2 separate regions of the Homo sapiens genome follow, and region 2 is linked to region 1. The links are contacts of gene promoters, found by promoter capture Hi-C in blood cells and fetal thymus (Javierre and others, 2016). All regions are on one chromosome and are shown on one strand. The core of a region is centred on a gene start or on the middle of the fragment in contact, and the rest is flanking DNA. Distances in the headings are between cores, read along the strand shown.

Evidence for each region. The method cuts DNA at HindIII sites, captures the fragments that hold promoters and counts their contacts. A CHiCAGO score of 5 or more calls a contact.
Region 2: a contact is called between a fragment that was not itself captured here and the fragment with the promoter of PNPLA4 in region 1, in 5 of 17 cell types (endothelial precursors, fetal thymus, naive CD8 T cells and 2 more). The highest score is 15.2, in endothelial precursors.

What each region holds. Positions count from the first base shown.
Region 1 is chrX:7,924,975-7,929,916 of GRCh38, reverse strand. PNPLA4 (patatin like domain 4, phospholipase and triacylglycerol lipase) reads left to right here and starts at 2,504. Exons shown (of 7, transcript NM_004650.3): 1 at 2,504-2,631; 2 at 3,785-3,977. The coding sequence starts at 3,798. LOC107985675 (a long non-coding RNA gene) reads right to left here and starts at 2,417. Exons shown (of 5, transcript XR_001755784.2): 1 at 504-2,417. RefSeq lists enhancers at 1,897-1,976, 2,317-2,366, 2,387-2,626, 2,857-3,086, 3,749-3,798 and a silencer at 3,775-4,069. The HindIII fragment of the contact is 3,086 bases long and covers 1,876-4,942 here.
Region 2 is chrX:4,548,192-4,553,133 of GRCh38, reverse strand. No RefSeq gene overlaps it. Among named protein-coding and RNA genes, the nearest start is that of FAM239C, 610 kb to the right of the region's middle. The HindIII fragment of the contact is 5,259 bases long and covers 1-4,556 here.

The DNA.
Region 1 (4,942 bases), core at 1,255-3,754:
AACTAAATTACTAAGGAAAATAGACGAGCAAAAATAAGCAAATTAATTACAGAAAAAAAAGTTTCAAAGAGCAATTAAATTACTATATATTCAGATCACAATGGTAATTTACATAAATCCAACATCCAAAACAAATATTTATTGATCATATACTATGGGCCAAGTGCTAAGCTTGGCGATGAGATGACAAAGACAAATGTGAATGAATATATCCTTCCTTACATTAGAAAGCTGAACTTTTTTTGTTTTTTGTTTTTTCTTTAGAGATGAGGTCTCACTACATTGCTCTGGCTGAAGATGAACTCCTAGGTTCAAGCAATCCTCCCACCTCAGCTTCCTGAGTGGCTGAGACTACAGGCACATGCCACCTCACCCAGCTGAGAGCTGAACTTTTAACTAGTTACATGGAGATATGATACGGGATTGAAGGGAGTAAGGAGGAAATAAATTTAAAATTTTAAGAGTTAAATTATGGAGCATTTTGCTGCTCCAAAGAGACTTACCTTTGGTGAGCTCTCACTCTGCCAGCCAGGTGTAGAAATAGTGGATGCCCTTATCTTTCCTTTAAGTGAAAGATATCAAAGTTGTGGTGTTCATCCAGGCTGCCCGGTGATAAAGTTTTCACCTGTCTCCTGAATCGACCTGCTGACAGTGTCCAAATGCAGGAAATAACTTGCTCTGTAAACAGCATCCCAGATTCTGGTTCTGTAAATCCAGTCTCTCCTTAAACTTCTGATGCCACCACATCACTTTAAACCAGACCACCTGTCTTAATCCATTCAGGCTGCTATAATAAAGTAGCATTGACTGAGTGTTTATAAAAGAAATTTATTTCTCACAGTTCTGGAAGATGGAAGTCTGAGATCAAGGTGCCAAGATGGTCAGGTTCTGAGGAGGGCCCTTTTCCAGTTTGCAGATTGCCATCTTCTCCGTGTACTTTTATCCTTACATGGTGGAAAGAGACCTCTCTGGGGTCCCTTTTCTAAGAGTACTAATCCCATTCATGAGGGCTTCACCCTCATGACTTAATTACCTCCCAAAGGCCCCACCTCCTAATACTATCACCTTGGGGGTTAGTATTTCAATATGTGAATTTTGGAGGTATACATGCAAACAATAACACCACCAAAGGAGTTAGACCACTGCTTCAGGATTCTGTTAAAACGCAGATGCCGACTCAGATCAGAGATGGGACCTGGGATCCTTCCTTTCTCATGAGCTTCCTGGAAGATGCAGTTCTGGGGAGGATCACACTCGACCTTAAAGAGCTAGAAGATTGTGGAAGGTTTAAGGACTGGAGTGTGTCCTGTATTTTCCTAATGTACGTTGTGCCTTCCCTTCACTAAATTCCGGTAGAGGTAAAGAATTCTGAGTAATGCAGTCATTCTACGATAAGGCAATAAGGTGTTTCAGGATCAATTTTCTCTAAAGAATAGTTATGTGAATTAAAAACATCTTCCCTAATCGTCACATCAAGGACTCACAGGTGTTGTTGGCCAGAGACGATACACCAAAACAGAAAGAAAAAGCCCAAACCAGAGGCAATTTGGAGAGCTCCACCCCTCCTCCCTGTTTTGTCTAAGGTAGAGACATTCTCGCAGACGCTCCTTTGTAGCCTCAGAGAAAGTAAATCTCTGCCCTTAAACTAGGGGACCTGGAGAGCCTTCAATCACGAAGTCAGGGATTCCTCCAGGCTTGGTTATTAGGATTAGATAAGGAAAACACCGTTTGGGGAGAGAAAGAATTATCAGAGTCCTTTAAATCTTGGTGGGCATGGCAGGCATCTTGGCGGTCGTTGAAGCTGCTTAAGTCTGAGCCAAAGGTGCCAGAGGACAAAACAGCCACCTGCTCACGGCCCCCTATGTGGAAAAAGCTTTCCAATTTAGCTCTCTCATTTTAGCATCTCAATCTGCACATAAGGCACGCGGGAAACTCAGAGAGGTTATGCTACCTGCTCAAGGTCACACAGCCTAAGGTCAACTGAGGATATGAAAGTTCCCCAGAGTCATAGTCCAGCTTTTCCTTTAGATAGCACTTCTTAAAAAAACCAAAGGCACGCCTTGAAAAGCTGCGGGATGTCCAGCCCCAAAATAGCCGCTGGAGTTGGCCCCTAGGGGCAGCTGGACCGCCCAGGCGGGCGAAAGGGTGGAGAGGGAGAAGAACCACTTCCGGGAAACAGACGCGAAGAGGGTAAGGCACTTCCGGGGCACAGAAAATGAGGATTATTAAAGGTCAGTTGCTCGCAGGTAAGGGCCAAGTAGCGTTAAAAGACACGTAAGGATTACAACGCCTCTCTAGGGTGTGGGTTAAAATGTCTCTCTAGGTACTCGAAGATAACATGACTCTAAACGAGGAATCCTTGCCTGCGCTGGAGGACGCTCCGGTCTAGCGGCCAGGTTGAGTCCAGAAGTTTAAATAGAGCAGGCGGGGCCTAGCGGGCGCCTTCGTCGGCGCGATGACGTCACATACCTGCGCGGGAGGCGGTACCAACCCCTGCCGCAGGACTTTCCTGGGCCGGCTCGCGGAGAGCGTAGCGCGGCCTTGGTGGCGGAATGGCGTTGAGTGACGGCCCGGCCCCGCCATCTGGTTAAAGGGACTCGTTCAACACGGAAGTGTCCCGGGGCTGCATTGGTACGGAGCCCTGGGGCCCAGCAAGGGTGTGCTCCTGCGGGACTGATGCGGGGACCACCCCGGCCCTGCCGGCCTCCAAGCCGCGGGAGGGCACTGAGCCTGTGCTGGCTGGGCCTGGCCGCCTGGTTGCTACACACCCAACCCCCTTCCCGTCCCCATTTGCAGAAGTGGAATCAAAACTGGGGCTTGACCCCGGATCGATGACTGGGACTCAGCCTACGCGGACGCCAGCGCAGCCTGCGGCGGCCGAGCCACCTGCCCTCACAGGGCCTGGCCGGGTGCATCAGGAACAGGCGGTCTTAGGTCCCTAAATTCGAGGCCCTGTAATGTGCCTCATCTTGGGGTCCCTGAATGGGGCCCTTGGGCCCCCAAGGAAACCCTGAGACCTTCAGAATGGACAGCCTTGTGGAGGCACAATTTCATTCACTTGGGCAAATTGTGCGCACTGAGGCATAGGAAAACATGTAATTTTGTATTTAGATGTGTTCCAAGTATAAAGTGGCGTGGCTGACATTTCATAGAGCCTTAAATTGCCTTCACCAGGCATGACCTCAGTTTGTGTTGAGATACTTGGCAAAGAAATGTATTGCATTGTTGAGTGATTGCTTATTGCGTTACTGAGTAATTGTATTGGCGTTCATAAAAGCATGGGTGCTCACAATAGAAATTGGGAAGGGGAGTAGGGAACTGTATTTGAAATCTTCTGATACACTTACCAAGAACAAATGTATTGTTCATTTGGAATTTGATACGGTCTCTAATAATTTTCTGTTTCATAATGGTAGTGCCGCCCCCACCCGCAAAACGTTTCAAAGGGTCAAGAGAAAAGACCAAATGCCCTTGTCAACTGGAATTTATACGTCTGTTTCCTGCCAAGTAATTAAATCGTAGATTCATAATCTATGTACCGAATAAATGTGGAATGTTTTTGTTTTGTTTTGTTTTAATGTATAAGACTTGGGTCAAGGTGAGGAGGGAAAGAAAGGGTTTCCTTGAAAGATTCTTGTGTTTAATTAGAATTAATTGAAACCACTGTGCTTAAAACAGAGAATGATGTTAGAAGAAAGCCTTGGAACGATGATCAACATAAGACTACACAGTATGTGGGATAAACTATTCCAACTTACAGCATTTTTGTTTTTTGTATTGCCAGTGCTACAGCTAGAATGAAGCACATCAACCTATCATTTGCAGCGTGTGGATTTCTGGGCATTTACCACTTGGGGGCAGCATCTGCACTTTGCAGACATGGCAAAAAACTTGTGAAGGATGTCAAAGCCTTCGCTGGGGCGTCTGCGGGATCGTTGGTTGCTTCTGTTCTGCTAACAGCACCAGAAAAAATAGAGGTAATTAAGTAGTAACTTAGGCTGTGTTCCTCATCAAGAAATTAAGACCCAAAGGCAAACACCAGCATTGACTCTACTAAGTTAACACTGCAGAGAAATAATCGTTTGCTTGGAAACAGAAAGGATTAGGACTTTTCTCTTAAGATGTAATTATTAGGGATCTGTGCTCTGGTTGTGGAAAAGATTATTTTGGGTGATAGTGAAATAAGGAAATAAAATGACTTATATTACTCTTGAGTTTTTATTTATCCTTAAGATTCCAGCTCTGTTCCTTTCAAGCAAAGGATATTTCTTCTTTCTATGATCATGAGAAGAGCATGGGGCCTGTTTTCAAGGCCTTGAACATGTGGGCAACAAGTCTTACCTCACTGCTACTTAGAAATAGATACATAAATTAAAATGTGGGCATGCAGTTTCTATTAAGTGGAATGGTATAGGAATTTAATTCTTTTTTAATTCTCACAGTAAGAGGAAGCTCTGAGTTCCAAGCAATTTATCCAGAAGTAATACAAATAATTATTCATTAAGTACTTTATTTAATGCAATCTATGTTTTAAAATCTGTTTTCTGCTATCCAGACAGTGATCAATCATTTGCTGACTGTGAGAGCTGGATTCCGTAGTTGGAGAATATTATATTTGTTAATCATTACGTACTCTAGCAGCTTTGAACAATAATGAAATAACAATTTAACACCCTCATACCCAAGAATGAATTTCAGTCACATTTAAAATTCCAAAACTATGCAATGTTAAACATCAGAATCTCATTTCAGATCTTTTGTGAGCTGCTTATCAAAGGGAAGCTAGATTTGAGGCCAATCATTCAGAAATCCACCTATCTTCCTGTCTTTATATGGTTGATTTACAGGGAACTAGAAAAGTGATTTAAAAACTGCAGAGATTAAACAGGACCAGAACCTTAAGCCATGCAAGGTATAAATGAGGTCGGAAAATTCCCCCTAA
Region 2 (4,942 bases), core at 678-3,177, 3.4 Mb after region 1:
AACATCTGTGTTGTTTCCATTTTTTCATGATTACAATTAAAGCCACAATGAATACTCAATGACAGGTATTTTTTTAACCGACACTAATGTTTTATTTCTCTTTGGCAACACTTAGGAGGGGATTTCTGGGTCATATTGGGTCGGGTAGTGATATGGACAGGAGGCAGGGAAATACTGTGTAGAAGAGGGTGGTTCCCTGGCAAAAGCCACATCCTCAAGCCTGGAAACCCATGGCCCTAAATGGAAACAGGTATTCCTATTTTCACACCCAAATGTTGCCTTTTGGCCCACAACACCCCCCTATTTTGTACCCATATAAACCCCAAACCCCAGGCTCTATGAGCAGAAGAGCAGAGGAGCAGAAGAACAGCGCAGCAGAGAAGGAGAGAAGAAGAGAAGAGAAGGAGCATTTGAACATTGAGAGGAGTTTGGCTGGGGATGGTCAGAGAGGACATCAGCCATGTAACAGCCAAACTCCAGGGGAAGATTATCTTCCCACTCCATCCGCTTTCCAGCTCCTCATCCATCTCACTGATAGCCACCTCCATCTGGCAATAAAATCCCCTGCATTTACTATTCTTCAGTTTGTCTGTGTGTCCTGATTTTTCCTAGATGCCAGACAAGAACCTGGGTACCAAGAGGGCACTGAGCTGGTTAACACTTAAGTGGTCTGTGGATGGCAGAGCTAAAAGAGCACTGTAACACACCCACTGGGACTTCAGGAGTTGCAGGCACCCACCCCTAGAAGCTACCATGGAGTCAGAGCCCAAAAGCACTTGCTCCAGCTCCTGCGTCTGCCTGTCTGTGTGATTCCCCTTCCACAAGGGGTTTGAGCCAAGGCAGCAGGACAGACATGCCACACCCCTGTTACACGTCCTGCAGGGTAGGTCAGGGAACTCTCCTGTTTCAGTAGTACTTGCATATTTAGTTTTGTAAGAAGCCACCGCTCTGTTTTCCTGTGCTTGTACCATTCTGCGTTCCCACCAACAACATATGAGGGTTCTCTGCTATTCCCCCTCCTCACTGACGCTTCATATCATTAGGGTTTTGTTTTAGTATTTTTGTTCTTGTATGTTGATTTAAATTTTAGACATTCACACTCATGCGTGGTAACATTTCCCTGTGGTAGTAATTTGCATTTCCTTATGGACTAAAGATGTTGAGCATCTTTTCATGAGCCTATATTCTGTAACATCTTTGGTAAAGTCTCTATTCAAACAACTTGCCAATTTTTTAATTGGATTGTTGGTTTGGTGTACCAGACTGTGCATTTCTTAAAACGGAATTTTTTAAATGGGCTTGATTGAATGATTGCCATGGAGTACAGGAAGTCCCTGTGCAACTCTCAAGCAGTTCCTCTCATTATTAACATCTAATGTGGCTGTGCTGTACTTGTCAAAACTAAGAATCCGACATCATTGACACAGCACTCCTAAGTACACTTCAGACCTTTGGTCAGATTCCACCGGCTTTTTATGAACTTTTTTTTTTTTTCTGTCTCAGGATCCCATTGAGGGATCACACTGCACTTACTTGTCACCCCTCCCCCATGTCCTGTCTGTGGCCCTTTCTCAGACTTCCCTTGCTTTTTCATGACAGTCTTGAGTACTGTTCAAGTAGTCTGTGGAATATTTCCCATGCCACATTTGTCTCCTGTTTGTCTTATCATTAGAGTGGGGTTAGGGAATGTTGGGAACAAATACCACAGAGGTAAAGTGCCCTTCTCATCCCCTCACCAGCATAGAGGGATAGATAGATAATAAATAGATAGATAGATAGATAGATAGATAGATACATACATACATACATACATACATAGGTAATAGATACATGAGACATAGATAAATGATAGATGATAGATGATAGAAGATACATAGATACATGGTAGATTTTATAGATAGATATAGATATATATAACATACTATATTATATTAAAAACAAAAAATATTGCTAATTAATGTTATAAAATATATATTATATATTATATATTTAAATATATTATACATGACATAATATAGAATATAAGGTATAAAATTGTACATAATATATGTATAACTATATATAGTATACACAATGAATTATATACAATTATATTCATATTATATGATTGTGTACAGTTGACCCTTGAACAGGGCGAGGCTTAGGGGCACCAATCCCCTGTATGGTTAAAAGTTCACATATAGGCTGGGCACGGTGGCTCACGCCTGTAATCCCAGCACTTTAGGAGGACAAGGTGGGCAGGTCGCTTCAGGTCAGGAGTTCAAGACCAGCCTGGGCAACATGGTGAAACCCATCTCTACTAACAATACAAAAATTAGTCAGGCATGGTGGTGTATGCCTGTAGTCCCAGCTTACTCAGGATGCTGAGGCAGGAAAATCACTTGATCCCGGGAGGGGGAGGTTGCAGTGAGCTGAGACTGTGCCACTGCACTCCAGCCTGGGTGACAGAGTGAGACTCCGTCTCAAAAATAGTTCACATATAGCTTTTAATTCCACCAAAACTTAGCTAGCAGCCTACTGAAATCCACTGATAAGTGGATCCCCATAGTTTAAACTCATGTTGTTCCAGGGTCAGCTGTGTATATTGTATATAATACTCATTATATATAGTATAACACATAATAAAACTATTATTATTATTTTCTTAAGGCTACAGAGGATCTTCAGCTGCACAGGATTTCCTGCAACTGAAGACTTTTGTTCCACCTGCAAACTGCAAACCAGGAGTGACTTCCCATCAAGAACTATGAAGAGTCTGGGAGTATATCCTGTTTGCAAGTTAATAAAATAGCTTGCTGCAATGCTGCCATTCTATGGATGCTGGCAGAAGACACAGAACTTTTAGGTCTAAGACTAGAGACTTGTTTCCAGCAAAGCCATTGCCAGAGCATCAGCTTCTTTTTCTCAGGACCACAAGGGGGTGCTGAGGATGAACTTGGATGGGAACCTACACCTGCTATGGGCTGCCTTATAGGAGGGAGATACAGAGCCTGGGAAAAGTCGGCCACTTCATAACCCCCGATAAGCAGAGCCTGCTCTTTGTCCTGGAGGAAGATGTCACCTGCTCCTTCAAGGTCGAACATGTAGTAGAGCCACAACCCTGAGAAATACTCTAGGGAAAGAGTGGTCAGCACCTGGCATTCTTACTTAGCACACCCATAAGATATGGAGGACAAGAGACTCATGGAGAAGAGTCTCTGCCACTACTGTTCAACTCTCCCAAGACATCATCTTGGGGGCTTTTTCAGTTCCCTCAACTTGTCCCCAGTCTTCCTAGTAGGTAACAGGTAAAGTTTGTGAAGACTCGGTGACAGCTGCAAATTCCTCTTGTGGCTGCATCTCCCAGAGGTCCTACAACTTTATGCTAGTCCACTGTCAGCCTCAGCAAGCCCTTTAAGACTTTCTCCACATGTGTCTTATCCATTTGTGTGTTTTCTGTGTCTGTTCAAGGTAAGATGTACACACATCCCATCTCACCTTAGAAACGCCTGCCTTTCCTTGTATTTCAGCCTGATTGTTTGCACTATATATTCGTCAGGGTTCCCCAGAGGGAAAGAACTAATAGGTTCTATGTCTATATGAAAGGGAGTTTATTAGGGAGAATTGGCTCACACCATCACAAGGTGACACCCCACCATAGGCCATCTGCAAGCTGGGAAAGACAGAAACTGGTAGTGGCTTATTCCAAGTCCAACAGCTTCAAAAGCAGAGAAACTGACAGTTCAGCCTTCAGTCTGTGGCCAAAGGCCCAAGAGCCCCCGGCAAACCACTGGTGTAAGTACAAGAGTCCAAAAACCAGCCAGGCACGGTGGCTTACACCTGTAATCCCAGCACTTTGGGAGGCCAAGGCAGGTGGATTGCTTGAGGTCAGAGCCCAGAGTTCAAGACCAGCCTGGCCAACATGATGAAACCCTGTCTCTATTAAAAATACAAAAATTAGTCTGGTGTAGTGGTGGGTGCCTGTAATCCCAGTTACTTGGGAGGCTGAGTCAGGAGAATTGCTTGAACCCAGAAGGCAGAGGTTGTAGTGAGCCAAGATCACACCACTGCACTCCAGCCTGGGCGATGGAGTGAGACCCTATCTCAAATAATAATAATAATAATAATAAATAATAAATAATAAATAAATAAGAGTCCAAAAGCCAAAGAACCTGGAGTCTCATGTCCAAGGGCAGGAGGAACAGAGTGAAGCATCCAACATGGGAGAGAGATGAAAGCCAGAAGACCCAGCAAGCCAGCTTCTCCCACCTTCTAACCATCTGCTTTGCTTTAGCCACACTGGTAGCCAATTAGATGGTGCCCATCCACACTGAGGGTGGGTCTTCCTCTCCCACCCCACCGACTCAATGTCAATCTCCTCTGGCAACACCCTCACAGACACACCCAGAAACAATACTTTATCAGCTGTCTAGGCGTCCCTCAATAGTTGACACCTAATATTACCCACCATACCCTAAAACTGGAGTTTTCTGACAGATTCAAGAAACTTTAGATTTAGTTTATGATGTGTCCTTGATTTTGCCGTGATTGTTGGAGCGATGATCTTCTTACAAGCTTTCTACATCCTAAGTTTAAGCTAGAAGGCTAAACTTTTTATTTTGTAAAGAAGGGCTTCAAGTTGATCTGTTTAAACACTAAGTTTAAATTGCTGGCTTTCAGTAAAATGTTCAAATGCGTTTTTTAAAGATAGACATATCCTTTAAAATAATTAGTCTGAGTGAAGTTGTAGTTTCTGTCCATAAATTTATTATATGTCAGGAATATTTATTAACATGGAGAAGGGGATAGAGACCAAGCTGATGGGTAGGTGACCTTAGATCTAGCACCGGAGGTGGAAGAACAACTTACAGAAAGAACTGAAAGTAATCTCCTTTAGTCTCCATAGGGCTACACAGTATGCAGTCTTTACCACACAGTAGGTGCTCGATCTAGCTTCAATGAA